Linked DNA regions of Homo sapiens: regions 2, 3 and 4 are each linked to region 1. The links are contacts of gene promoters, found by promoter capture Hi-C in blood cells and fetal thymus (Javierre and others, 2016). All regions are on one chromosome and are shown on one strand. Each heading gives the region's core, a stretch centred on a gene start or on the middle of the fragment in contact. The rest is flanking DNA. Distances are from core to core; before and after follow the strand shown.

What was found. The method cuts DNA at HindIII sites, captures the fragments that hold promoters and counts their contacts. A CHiCAGO score of 5 or more calls a contact.
Region 2: the fragment with the promoter of FXR2 here is called in contact with the fragment with the promoter of SLC16A13 in region 1 in 2 of 17 cell types (fetal thymus and M0 macrophages); the score reaches 6.0 in fetal thymus.
Region 3: a contact is called between the fragment with the promoter of TNFSF13 here and the fragment with the promoter of SLC16A13 in region 1, in 1 of 17 cell types (M0 macrophages). The highest score is 6.2, in M0 macrophages.
Region 4: the fragment with the promoter of TP53 here is called in contact with the fragment with the promoter of SLC16A13 in region 1 in 6 of 17 cell types (fetal thymus, naive CD4 T cells, naive B cells and 3 more); the score reaches 9.5 in fetal thymus.

Annotation. Positions count from the first base shown.
Region 1 is chr17:7,034,630-7,037,329 of GRCh38, reverse strand. SLC16A13 (solute carrier family 16 member 13) reads right to left here and starts at 1,315. Exons shown (of 4, transcript NM_201566.3): 1 at 749-1,315; 2 at 460-603. The coding sequence starts at 947. RefSeq lists enhancers at 748-987, 1,718-1,767, 1,376-1,876. The HindIII fragment of the contact is 2,004 bases long and covers 1-1,528 here.
Region 2 is chr17:7,613,634-7,616,333 of GRCh38, reverse strand. FXR2 (FMR1 autosomal homolog 2) reads left to right here and starts at 1,437. Exons shown (of 17, transcript NM_004860.4): 1 at 1,437-1,882. The coding sequence starts at 1,802. It also overlaps a transcript of SHBG not described here. RefSeq lists silencers at 1,193-1,242, 1,353-1,882. The HindIII fragment of the contact is 2,190 bases long and covers 465-2,654 here.
Region 3 is chr17:7,557,500-7,560,199 of GRCh38, reverse strand. TNFSF13 (TNF superfamily member 13) reads right to left here and starts at 1,450. Exons shown (of 6, transcript NM_003808.4): 1 at 903-1,450; 2 at 498-576; 3 at 307-354; 4 at 33-151. The coding sequence starts at 1,160. It overlaps TNFSF12-TNFSF13 (TNFSF12-TNFSF13 readthrough), which reads right to left. Exons shown (of 11, transcript NM_172089.4): 7 at 498-576; 8 at 307-354; 9 at 33-151. TNFSF12 (TNF superfamily member 12) reads right to left here. Exons shown (of 7, transcript NM_003809.3): 7 at 2,319-2,700. RefSeq lists enhancers at 1,402-1,451, 2,262-2,321, 1,907-2,700. The HindIII fragment of the contact is 8,242 bases long and covers 1-2,700 here.
Region 4 is chr17:7,686,198-7,688,897 of GRCh38, reverse strand. TP53 (tumor protein p53) reads left to right here and starts at 1,408. Exons shown (of 11, transcript NM_000546.6): 1 at 1,408-1,521. WRAP53 (WD repeat containing antisense to TP53) reads right to left here and starts at 421. Exons shown (of 11, transcript NM_001143992.2): 1 at 337-421; 2 at 1-250. The coding sequence starts at 249. RefSeq lists enhancers at 470-519, 1,318-2,517, 2,478-2,527, 1,991-2,538, 2,558-2,687. The HindIII fragment of the contact is 572 bases long and covers 1,091-1,662 here.

The sequences.
Region 1 (2,700 bases), core at 66-2,565:
TGCTCTGTCGCCCAGGCTGGAGTGCAGTGGTGCGATCTTGGCTCACTGCAACCTCCGCCTCCCGGGTTCAAGCGATTCTCCTGCCTCAGCCTCCCGAGTAACTGGGATTAGCGCCACCAGGCCCGGCTAATTTTTGTATTTTTGTAGAGACGGGGTTTCACCATGTTGGCCAGGCTGGTCTCAAACTCCTGACCTCGTGATCCACCCGCCTCGGCTTCCCAAAGTGCTGGGATTACAGGCGTGAGCCACCGTGCCCGGCCAGGTTTCATCATCCTTGAATTTCCTAATTCCTCACCATGTTTGTCGCTTTAGTCATTCCTATTAAGAATTCCCTTCTGGGTACAGGTGCTAGCTAAACTTTCCCTCAGCTTCTCCCCGAACCCTTTGGAAGGAGCAGGAAGGAGGTGAACATCCAACGATCTAAGCATTTGACTCTCCTGCCCTTGTGCAGGCTCTCACCTGACAGCAACCCAATACTCAGGTATAGGTGGGTCAAGGAAGTAGCAAAAGAGGCGAGCAGCATCCCCAGCGCAGCCAAGATGCCTCCAGTCATCACCACGGGCCTGGGCCCGAACTTCGTGCTCAGGGCACTGCCTACCGGGCCTGAGGAAGTGGAAGGGGCGCTGCGAGAAGATCTCAGGGGTCTCCCCCCCAGCATCTCCCGCCCCTCGCCCTTCCACTTCCCAGTCGCCGCATTCCCTCTCCCTTCCGAGGGTCGCAGTCCGCCAGATCCAGGCGCCGCACTCACTCCCAAACTGCTGCACCGCGATTCCTATGGAGGCGATCCAGGAGACGCGCGCTGCCTGCTCCTCAAACGCCGCCACAAACTCCACGAAGAAGACCCCAAAGGAGCGGAGCACCCCAAACACAAGCGCCGACTGGAAGAACGCTGAGAGCACCACCACCCATCCCCAGCCCCCGTCGGGGGGCTCTGTCCTGCGCGCCATCTAAGCGGTAACAGGGCTGCTGCCACCCAGAGCCTCTGCAGGAGCCGGGTTCTGGACGCCGCACCTCTGCACACCCACCCCCGCTGCCGGGTGGCTCGGGGCCGAGAGGGGTTGGAGAGGCAGGTAGAGAGGAAGGGCCCGACGAGGCGGCGAGAGGCCCCTGCACCTTTTCCCAAGGCGGGGCGATATAGGACTGAAGACCTGGCCCGCGCTGGCCGGGCCAGAGTCTCCCGGGGGCGTGGTTCCGCGAGCTCGGAGCTGAGCTAGTTCAAGCCGGGGCCGGATCGGTCCCGGTTCGGTGTTCGGCTGGGAGCCAGAGGGTGGAACTGAGTTTGGGCCCCACCCCTGGAGCGCGCCAGTTTCCGTGTAGATGATCTATTTTATCACTGGGGTGTCCGGGCCGGGCCACCCTGGAGCTCGCCAATGAGGACGCGGGGCTCCCGGGCAGGGGCGGAACGAGAAGGGCAGGGCGGGATTTAGGCATTGTTGGGGACCAGCAGTGAATGGGCGCATGCGTAAGGAGGGGCGTTAGGAGGCTGACTAGGTAGGGCCCCACGTGACGCGGGGACTGCCAGGAAGCTTCCGTCTCCTCTTCACCTAGCGGGCCAAGTCATCCCCGTTTCAGCACCCAGAGCCACACGGAAGGGTTAGTGGTGGGTAAACTGGGTCTGGAGAGGAGAGGACTCTCTTGCTTTAATGAGGGGTCCAGGAATTGCAAGGCCCTGTTGGGGGTAGGGGAGGGGTTAGGAGATGAGACTCAAACGAAGTGTTTGGCGCAGCGCCTGAAGCCACTAACACGCAGCCCTAGGCACGCAGACCTAGAAGCCTGGATCCCTGAGAAGTTCAACGGCTAAGGGAAGAGAGAAGGGGAATGAGTTGGACTCCTGGCGTTCATTTCTGTAGTGGGAACTCGTTCCTGTCACTTCTGTTCCCACTAACAGGAAACCTACAGGTCACAGAGACCAAAAATAACTGAGGAGAGGAAGGGCGGCTGTAAGCTCACACAGGGCCCCACCAACACCACCTACCTCTTCCTCACTGGGGCTGGAACCTTTTCCTCTGCCCTCTAGTAACAACCACTTCCTAACCACCTTTTTTGATCTGATGGTGGGGTAGACTAAAGAGACAAACTATGACCCTGGCCACTGGAGCAGTCAGCCCCCTCTTACCCAAGTAGTCCTCAGGCCCCTAGCAAACACTCCCCAGTCCTTCCCAGTCTCCATAACACCAATGGCTTGGATTTCCTGTTCCTTCATTATAAGCCATACTTCCCAGGACCCTGACCTTGAAACCGTGGACTCAATGTTCACTCCCAGATTACTGGGGAAAGCAGCAAACAAGAAGTGGAGGCAGGGAGGGAGGTGTGTAGTCTTAAAAGACATATTGAGCCTTAAATAATTTTATATGTGGGAAATAAAAGTAATCATCAATAATACACATATATACTTTCTAAGAGTCAAAATGTCGGCTGGTGGGGAATATGCCAAAGATACAGAAATTGCTGTGGCTGTATTACATAGTGATTAAGAACTCGGGTCTTTAGAATCAGATCACAGTTCCAGTCTTTTATTTATTTATTTATTTATTTATTTATTTATTTATTTATTTATTTTGAGATGGAGTCTTGCTCTGTGGCCCAGGCTGGAGTGCAGTGGCATGATCTTGGCTCACTGCAACCTCCACCTCCCGGGTTCAAGTGATTCTCCTGCCTCAGTCTCCTGAGTTTCTGGGATTACAGGCTCCCACCACAACG
Region 2 (2,700 bases), core at 188-2,687, 580 kb before region 1:
GCCCTGCCATTATTATTATTTTTAAAGAAGAAATTTCACTCATTGCCCAGGCTGGAGTGTGGTGGCATGATATCCACTCACTGCAACCTCCACCTTCCTAGGTTCAAGCGATTCTCCTGCCTCAGCCTCCTGAGTAGCTGGGACTCCTTCCGAGTAGCTGGAACTACCACGGCTAATTTTTTGTATTTTAGTAGAGACGAGGTTTCACCATGTTGGCCAGAATGGTCTCCATCTCCTGACCTCGTGATCCGCCCGCCCGTGATCTCGGCCTCCCAAAGTGCTGGGATTACAGGCCTGAGCCACCGCGCCCGTCCTAATTTTTGTATTTTTAGTAGAAACAGGGTTTCGCCCTGTTGAGGCTGGTGTCAAACTTTTGGGCTCAAGTGATCCACCGCCTGAGCCTCCTAAAGTGCTGGGATTACAGGAGTGAGCCACAGCGCCCGTCTGAAACTATTCTTAAAGCTTTCTTTCTATTCTTTCTTTCTTTTTTTTTTTTTTTTGAGACTGAGTCTTGCTCTGTCGCCCAGGCTGGAGTGCAATGGTGCGATCTTGGCTCACTGCAACTTCTGCCTCCCAGGTTCAAGGTAGTCTCCTGCCTCAGCCTCCCGAGTATCTGGGATTACAGGCGCGTGTCACCACGCCCGGCTAATTTTTGTATTTTATTAGATGCGGGGTGGGGGGGGGGGTGGGTTTCACCATTTTGGCCACGCTGGTCTCGAACCCCTGACCTCAGGTGATCCGAGGACCTCAGGTGATCCACCTGCCTCGGCCTCCCAGAGCGCTGGGATTACAGGCGTGAGCCACCGCGCCCGGCCAAAACTTTCATTGTATCACAATCTCTTCAAGGTAAGAGCCATGACTGTTAAATCTACTACAGTAGAGAGTTACAGATTCTTAAAATATCGGCGATGCATACGCGAAGAGGGTAAAGCTCAGCGCGTGCGCACCAAGCACCTTTTTCCTTGCGGCGACTCCTCTTCTTTTTTTTTTCTTTTTGGAGCGTGCGCACCAAGAAAGACAAAGGTGGGGAAAGTGACCAAGCAGTCGTTCAGGCGCATGCCCATCCCTAACTTGTCCAAGCCCGGTGGGGCCAGCGGCGGCGGAGTGGGTGTGGCCTGAGCGCTGTGTGACTGTGCGGACGCCGCCCAATCGGACTGAGCGAGCCCGGCCCCTCCCTCCCCCTGATTGGTTGGTTCTCAGTGTTGTGGGGCGGGGAAAGGAAGAGACGGGGTGGCTGGGCGGTGGAGCGGTGAAGAAAGAAGGCTAATCTTGTTCTGCGCAAGCGCTAGCAAGCGACCAGGAGGGGGAGTGAGAGAGTGAAAGGGAATGTGGAAGCCCCGATGCGCTAGCTGGCGCTAGCTGGGGCTCTAACCTTGACGCCTGCGCGGTGGCCCTCGGGGCCCCGCGCGCAGCGGGCGGGTGCCCGGTGCGCCTGCGCAGTAGGCGGCGGTGGCAGGGGGAGGTGGAGGCTGTGGAGCGGCAGCGGCAGCAGCGGGTCCCGGGACTGAGGCAGCAGCGGGGGCGGCGGCGGGCGGAAGCTGAGGTGACGAAGGCAGCGGCGGCGGCGGCCGTTTCCCTCACGGTGGCGGAGACCAAGGCGGCGGCGGCGGACGGGGAGCGGCCCGGCCCCGGCCCCCTGCTCGTTGGCTGTGGCAGGGCCGCCGTGGGGCCGGCCCGGCTCCCGCCCCCCGCGGCTCCCCCTCCGGCTCCTCCTCCGGGGAGACGCCGGGGGCCTGGCCCGGCCCGCACTCAGACTGCTGCTGCAGCCGCCGCCGGGGGAGTCGGAGGCGGTGGCGGCGCCATGGGCGGCCTGGCCTCTGGGGGGGATGTGGAGCCGGGACTGCCCGTCGAGGTGCGCGGCTCCAACGGGGCCTTCTACAAGGTGAGACGGCGCGCCGACTGGGGACGCCGGTCCTTAGCCCCCTCCCCTGGCCGGAGCAGGAACGCGTGGGGCGGGATCGAGCTTCTGGAGCTGAGTCCTGGCCCTTAGAATCTTGGACCCTTGCTCCAACCCGCAGCCTTCCCTGGGAGACCGCTTAGAGTGAACCCTGTTCCTCTTATTTTTGACCCCTCTAAGGCACCTGCACCTGCTTCTACCCCCATCTCCGGGAGAATGAACTTCAGGCCATTATTGTCCCTGGCTTGGCGCTCCCCGCTCCGCAGGAGAGACCCCTTTACCCAGCTTCTAATTGACTGTGTCCGTTGTCTGGTGGAAGACATACCTTAGACCTTAATCACATCTTCCCCACGATCCAAGCACATGGAGAATTGTCTTTCTTCCACACGGTCCCTTTGGGAAGGCCCTCTGTCCCGTAAAAGATCCTTTCATCTTCCTCAGAGAGGCCTCTGCCTACTGGCTCTGGAACACTCACCCCACTTTCATCTTATATTCCGGTTCCCAAGCCAAGGAGAAATGGTCAGATCCATTTACGACGTTTGGCATCTTTGACCTCAGGAACCCTGGGTTGGATCAGTCAAGTTGCTTCCCAGCCAGCCATAAGGTGGCATCTTTCGCAAGTCTCTCTCCCCACCACACCTTGATCTCAAGACCCACTGCTCTACCATTCTACTCAGGAATGGATTTGAGGTCTCACTTAGACCTCAGATACCTTCAGGTCATTCATATAGTTTCTTCGTCTTGAGGCATGTAAGCTTCATAGTCATAATCTCTAAAAGGATCTCTGAAAGGAAGCTTATGAG
Region 3 (2,700 bases), core at 201-2,700, 520 kb before region 1:
CTCTGTGAAGCTCAGAGTGTGGCTGGGGTTACCTGGCTATACAGCAGATAAACTCCAGCATCCTGGATTCGGACACCATATCCTTGGGCCTGTAGGCCTCTCCCACGCCTAAGAGCTGGTTGCCACATCACCTCTGTCACATCGGAGTCATCTGGAGGTGAGAGTGTGTCGGTCAGGACTTCTTGGCACTCTCAGGTGCTTTTTGGTTCTTTCCCTTTCACCTATAAGGACCCCTTGAGCCCAAGTGCCAGCCCGAGTTCCTGGTTATTGCCCCTCCCCAAAGCCATTATTTAAAATAGTGCTCACCCTTGGAGGTGGCGTTAATGGGAACCAGGTGCAGGACAGAGTGCTGCTCTGAGGAGAGAAGGAGGGAATCTCAGCCGCATCCACTTTCCCCCGTTGTGCTGTTGGCAGCCTCCACCCTCACCCTGACTCGGGCTTACAATCCCCACGCTGCTTGATCACCTCCCACCCCTGCTGCACCCTGGAAGCCTCACTCTTCTGTTTTTGGGTGAGCACTGCTCTCCTTTTCCGGGATCTCTCCCCATTCTCCCAGGCTTCCAGGGCATCGGAACTCTGCTCATGGAAAGAGGGTCAAGGTTAGGTTAAGATGCGAGGGTCCCAGCCAGCCTGCCTTCCCAGCCCTCCCCTGCCCCCGAGATGCCTCAGATCTCTCACGCACCTTTTCCCAGCACCCTGAGTGTTGGTGCTGGCTGCCCTCCAGGATTTGTTAGGTATGAGAAGCATTAACCTTTAACAGTTTCCTTTCCTGGAATGGCCGCGCCCCTGACTTCCAAACCGGAGACCCTCTCTTGCACCCCCTTGAAACTTTGCAGACCAGGAGGCCCAGAGACCCCCCATGCTAACCATCCTCTCCCAGACACCCTCCTCCCCTCACTCACCTGCTCCGGGAGACTCTGCCAGGGATACCCTTCCCCATTCTGGGAGGGGCCTCCTGTCCCCTGCAGCCGGCTCACCTCTCTCCTGAGGCTCTGCAGCTCTGTTTGTTGGGTCAGCAGAGCCATGGCACAAGCCACGGCCCCCAGAGCTGCCCCCCAACTCAACCAGAGGGCAACTGAGAGTGCCGGCTCTCTGACTGGGCCCCCCATGTTGCCTGGAGGCCCTTTGGGGGCTAGCAAGAAAGGAGATGAGGCTGGCATGAGCTGGGGACCCTGCCAACAGCTGTGGTTTCAAGAGTGGGGTAGCAAGGAGGTGGCGGGGCGGGTAAGGGTACGGGCAGTGGTGCAGAAGGGAAGAAGGTTGTTACGCAAGGAGAAATAAAAAGGAACTTGAAAATAAAAAGGAGGGAGGAGGAAAGCAAGCTAAGGGTACTGTTAGTGCTCCTGGCACTCCGTCGTGGGGCCAGCGTTGCCTTGAGACCCTCCACCCTCCCTCAGCCTCAGGAGAATTAGGTTCCAGTCCCTCTAGGAAGGACAGGGCTGCCAGTGACACCCAGGAGGAACAGGCAGTGCGCAGGAACCCTGGGGCGGCCCCAGGGTTGGGGGAGGGAAGGTTGGCTGGCTAGAGGGCATTGTGCCAGGAGCAGGATGGGGGGCCAAGCTGGGCAGTGTCCAGGGTCAGGGCGAGGGTGGAAGACCCTCGGGGTCAAGCACAGCAGAGATCGCTGGGGCAGTTCACTAGGGGTGACTGAAGGTGGGAAAGGAGGGGTGGGCTCGATGGGGAGGAGAACCAGGGGCACGGAAGCAAGAAACTGGCTGAGTTCTGGGGTTAAGGCTGGGCCGGGTGTGTTGGAATAAGGCCTGCACTACTCCCTGTGCTGAAATTGGCAAGCAGGACTTCCTGTTTCCCGAGAAAAGCTCTTACATAAGGCTCTGGACGAAGAGACAAAGCAGCGGCCTCAAGCCCCCCGGCCACTGCGGGATTCCTCCCCAGCACACAGGGTTCCGGGTTCCCGTGTGCCTGCTGACTCTCAGCCCCTCCTCCAGGCTGGCTCCTGCCCGCCCCACCTCCCAGCCAGGGCCTGTGCCAGCACCTGCTGAATGTCCGAGGCCACCAAGAGGAAGGGCCCCTGCTCCTCCCAGCCAGGAAGGGATTTCCCCGCAGGAGGAAGTCTGCCTCCTAGGCCAAGGAGGCCGCTTCTGCTGTACCTTGGGCGGAGGATTGATTTTTTTCCTGGGCAGTGTGCCTTCCTACCTCTGCTCCCACCTGGGGGCTGGAGGCATGGAGGTCCCCGCCCCCAAGCCTGAACATCATCCCGGAGTTCCAGCTGTGCCGCTCCGCAACGCCCCCCTTCACGTGGCCCCCAGCTACCCTGAGAGTGTCCCCTGAGCCCCAATAAAGAGAGAGACTATGACTTATTCTATTTAATATCCATTTATCAACATTTTGTCACAATAATAATAAAAATAATATCTGTTTTAAAAATCCACAGGGAATTCTCAAGGGAGGAGCTTGTCTTGTTTCTCGCCCCTCACATTTGGGAACTCCTGGCCTAGGCCCAGTCTCTTTGGCTTCCTGCCGCCAGGTCCAGCCCCTCTTAGTGCCTGAAGTGGGGTCTTCTGGACCCATCCTTGCCCACAGAGTACAGTGAACACAATGCCCTGGGGGTCTGTGGCCAGGGGGGAGTCGAGATCACTGGGGGCCTCAAAGGGTCAGGGATTGGGGAGCTAGTGAGGTGGAGAGTGGGCGGTGGGGGAGTTGTAAGATAAGAGTGGGAATACTGTATTTATGTGGGATGGA
Region 4 (2,700 bases), core at 159-2,658, 650 kb before region 1:
AAACTCTGTTTCCAGGGGAGTGGAGAGAGAAACTGGGTCCCCCTCCCGTAGCTCCTGGGACACAGCTGAGCCAGCCACAGGATCTGGGGACAACCGGGGCGGATCCCCCCTTTCGGGAGGCGGTGGCATCAGTTCAGAGTCCGCATTTTTATTCATCGGGGAAGCGTGGGGAGAAGGATGGGCTGGAGCTGGGTCCTGGTCTGAAGGACAGCAGTCCGGAGCTAACGGTTGAGTCTCCAAAGTCTTCATACTGCAGAGGAAGCACAGCGGAGATTAGCCTCAGCCAGGATGGCTTCGAAGTTCTCAGGGATCCGACGCAGAGCTAAAGAAACCCACCTGTGCTTCCCTCCTCTTCTGGGAGTAGGCAGAAGACTCCCGGGAGGAGAGGCGAACAGCGGACGCCAATTCTTTTGAAAGCACTGTGTTCCTTAGCACCGCGGGTCGCTACGGGCCTCTTGCTGTCGCGGGATTTCGGTCCACCTTCCGATTGGGCCGCCGCATCCCGGATCAGATTTCGCGGGCGACCCACGGAACCCGCGGAGCCGGGACGTGAAAGGTTAGAAGGTTTCCCGTTCCCATCAAGCCCTAGGGCTCCTCGTGGCTGCTGGGAGTTGTAGTCTGAACGCTTCTATCTTGGCGAGAAGCGCCTACGCTCCCCCTACCGAGTCCCGCGGTAATTCTTAAAGCACCTGCACCGCCCCCCCGCCGCCTGCAGAGGGCGCAGCAGGTCTTGCACCTCTTCTGCATCTCATTCTCCAGGCTTCAGACCTGTCTCCCTCATTCAAAAAATATTTATTATCGAGCTCTTACTTGCTACCCAGCACTGATATAGGCACTCAGGAATACAACAATGAATAAGATAGTAGAAAAATTCTATATCCTCATAAGGCTTACGTTTCCATGTACTGAAAGCAATGAACAAATAAATCTTATCAGAGTGATAAGGGTTGTGAAGGAGATTAAATAAGATGGTGTGATATAAAGTATCTGGGAGAAAACGTTAGGGTGTGATATTACGGAAAGCCTTCCTAAAAAATGACATTTTAACTGATGAGAAGAAAGGATCCAGCTGAGAGCAAACGCAAAAGCTTTCTTCCTTCCACCCTTCATATTTGACACAATGCAGGATTCCTCCAAAATGATTTCCACCAATTCTGCCCTCACAGCTCTGGCTTGCAGAATTTTCCACCCCAAAATGTTAGTATCTACGGCACCAGGTCGGCGAGAATCCTGACTCTGCACCCTCCTCCCCAACTCCATTTCCTTTGCTTCCTCCGGCAGGCGGATTACTTGCCCTTACTTGTCATGGCGACTGTCCAGCTTTGTGCCAGGAGCCTCGCAGGGGTTGATGGGATTGGGGTTTTCCCCTCCCATGTGCTCAAGACTGGCGCTAAAAGTTTTGAGCTTCTCAAAAGTCTAGAGCCACCGTCCAGGGAGCAGGTAGCTGCTGGGCTCCGGGGACACTTTGCGTTCGGGCTGGGAGCGTGCTTTCCACGACGGTGACACGCTTCCCTGGATTGGGTAAGCTCCTGACTGAACTTGATGAGTCCTCTCTGAGTCACGGGCTCTCGGCTCCGTGTATTTTCAGCTCGGGAAAATCGCTGGGGCTGGGGGTGGGGCAGTGGGGACTTAGCGAGTTTGGGGGTGAGTGGGATGGAAGCTTGGCTAGAGGGATCATCATAGGAGTTGCATTGTTGGGAGACCTGGGTGTAGATGATGGGGATGTTAGGACCATCCGAACTCAAAGTTGAACGCCTAGGCAGAGGAGTGGAGCTTTGGGGAACCTTGAGCCGGCCTAAAGCGTACTTCTTTGCACATCCACCCGGTGCTGGGCGTAGGGAATCCCTGAAATAAAAGATGCACAAAGCATTGAGGTCTGAGACTTTTGGATCTCGAAACATTGAGAACTCATAGCTGTATATTTTAGAGCCCATGGCATCCTAGTGAAAACTGGGGCTCCATTCCGAAATGATCATTTGGGGGTGATCCGGGGAGCCCAAGCTGCTAAGGTCCCACAACTTCCGGACCTTTGTCCTTCCTGGAGCGATCTTTCCAGGCAGCCCCCGGCTCCGCTAGATGGAGAAAATCCAATTGAAGGCTGTCAGTCGTGGAAGTGAGAAGTGCTAAACCAGGGGTTTGCCCGCCAGGCCGAGGAGGACCGTCGCAATCTGAGAGGCCCGGCAGCCCTGTTATTGTTTGGCTCCACATTTACATTTCTGCCTCTTGCAGCAGCATTTCCGGTTTCTTTTTGCCGGAGCAGCTCACTATTCACCCGATGAGAGGGGAGGAGAGAGAGAGAAAATGTCCTTTAGGCCGGTTCCTCTTACTTGGCAGAGGGAGGCTGCTATTCTCCGCCTGCATTTCTTTTTCTGGATTACTTAGTTATGGCCTTTGCAAAGGCAGGGGTATTTGTTTTGATGCAAACCTCAATCCCTCCCCTTCTTTGAATGGTGTGCCCCACCCCGCGGGTCGCCTGCAACCTAGGCGGACGCTACCATGGCGTGAGACAGGGAGGGAAAGAAGTGTGCAGAAGGCAAGCCCGGAGGTATTTTCAAGAATGAGTATATCTCATCTTCCCGGAGGAAAAAAAAAAAGAATGGGTACGTCTGAGAATCAAATTTTGAAAGAGTGCAATGATGGGTCGTTTGATAATTTGTCGGAAAAACAATCTACCTGTTATCTAGCTTTGGGCTAGGCCAT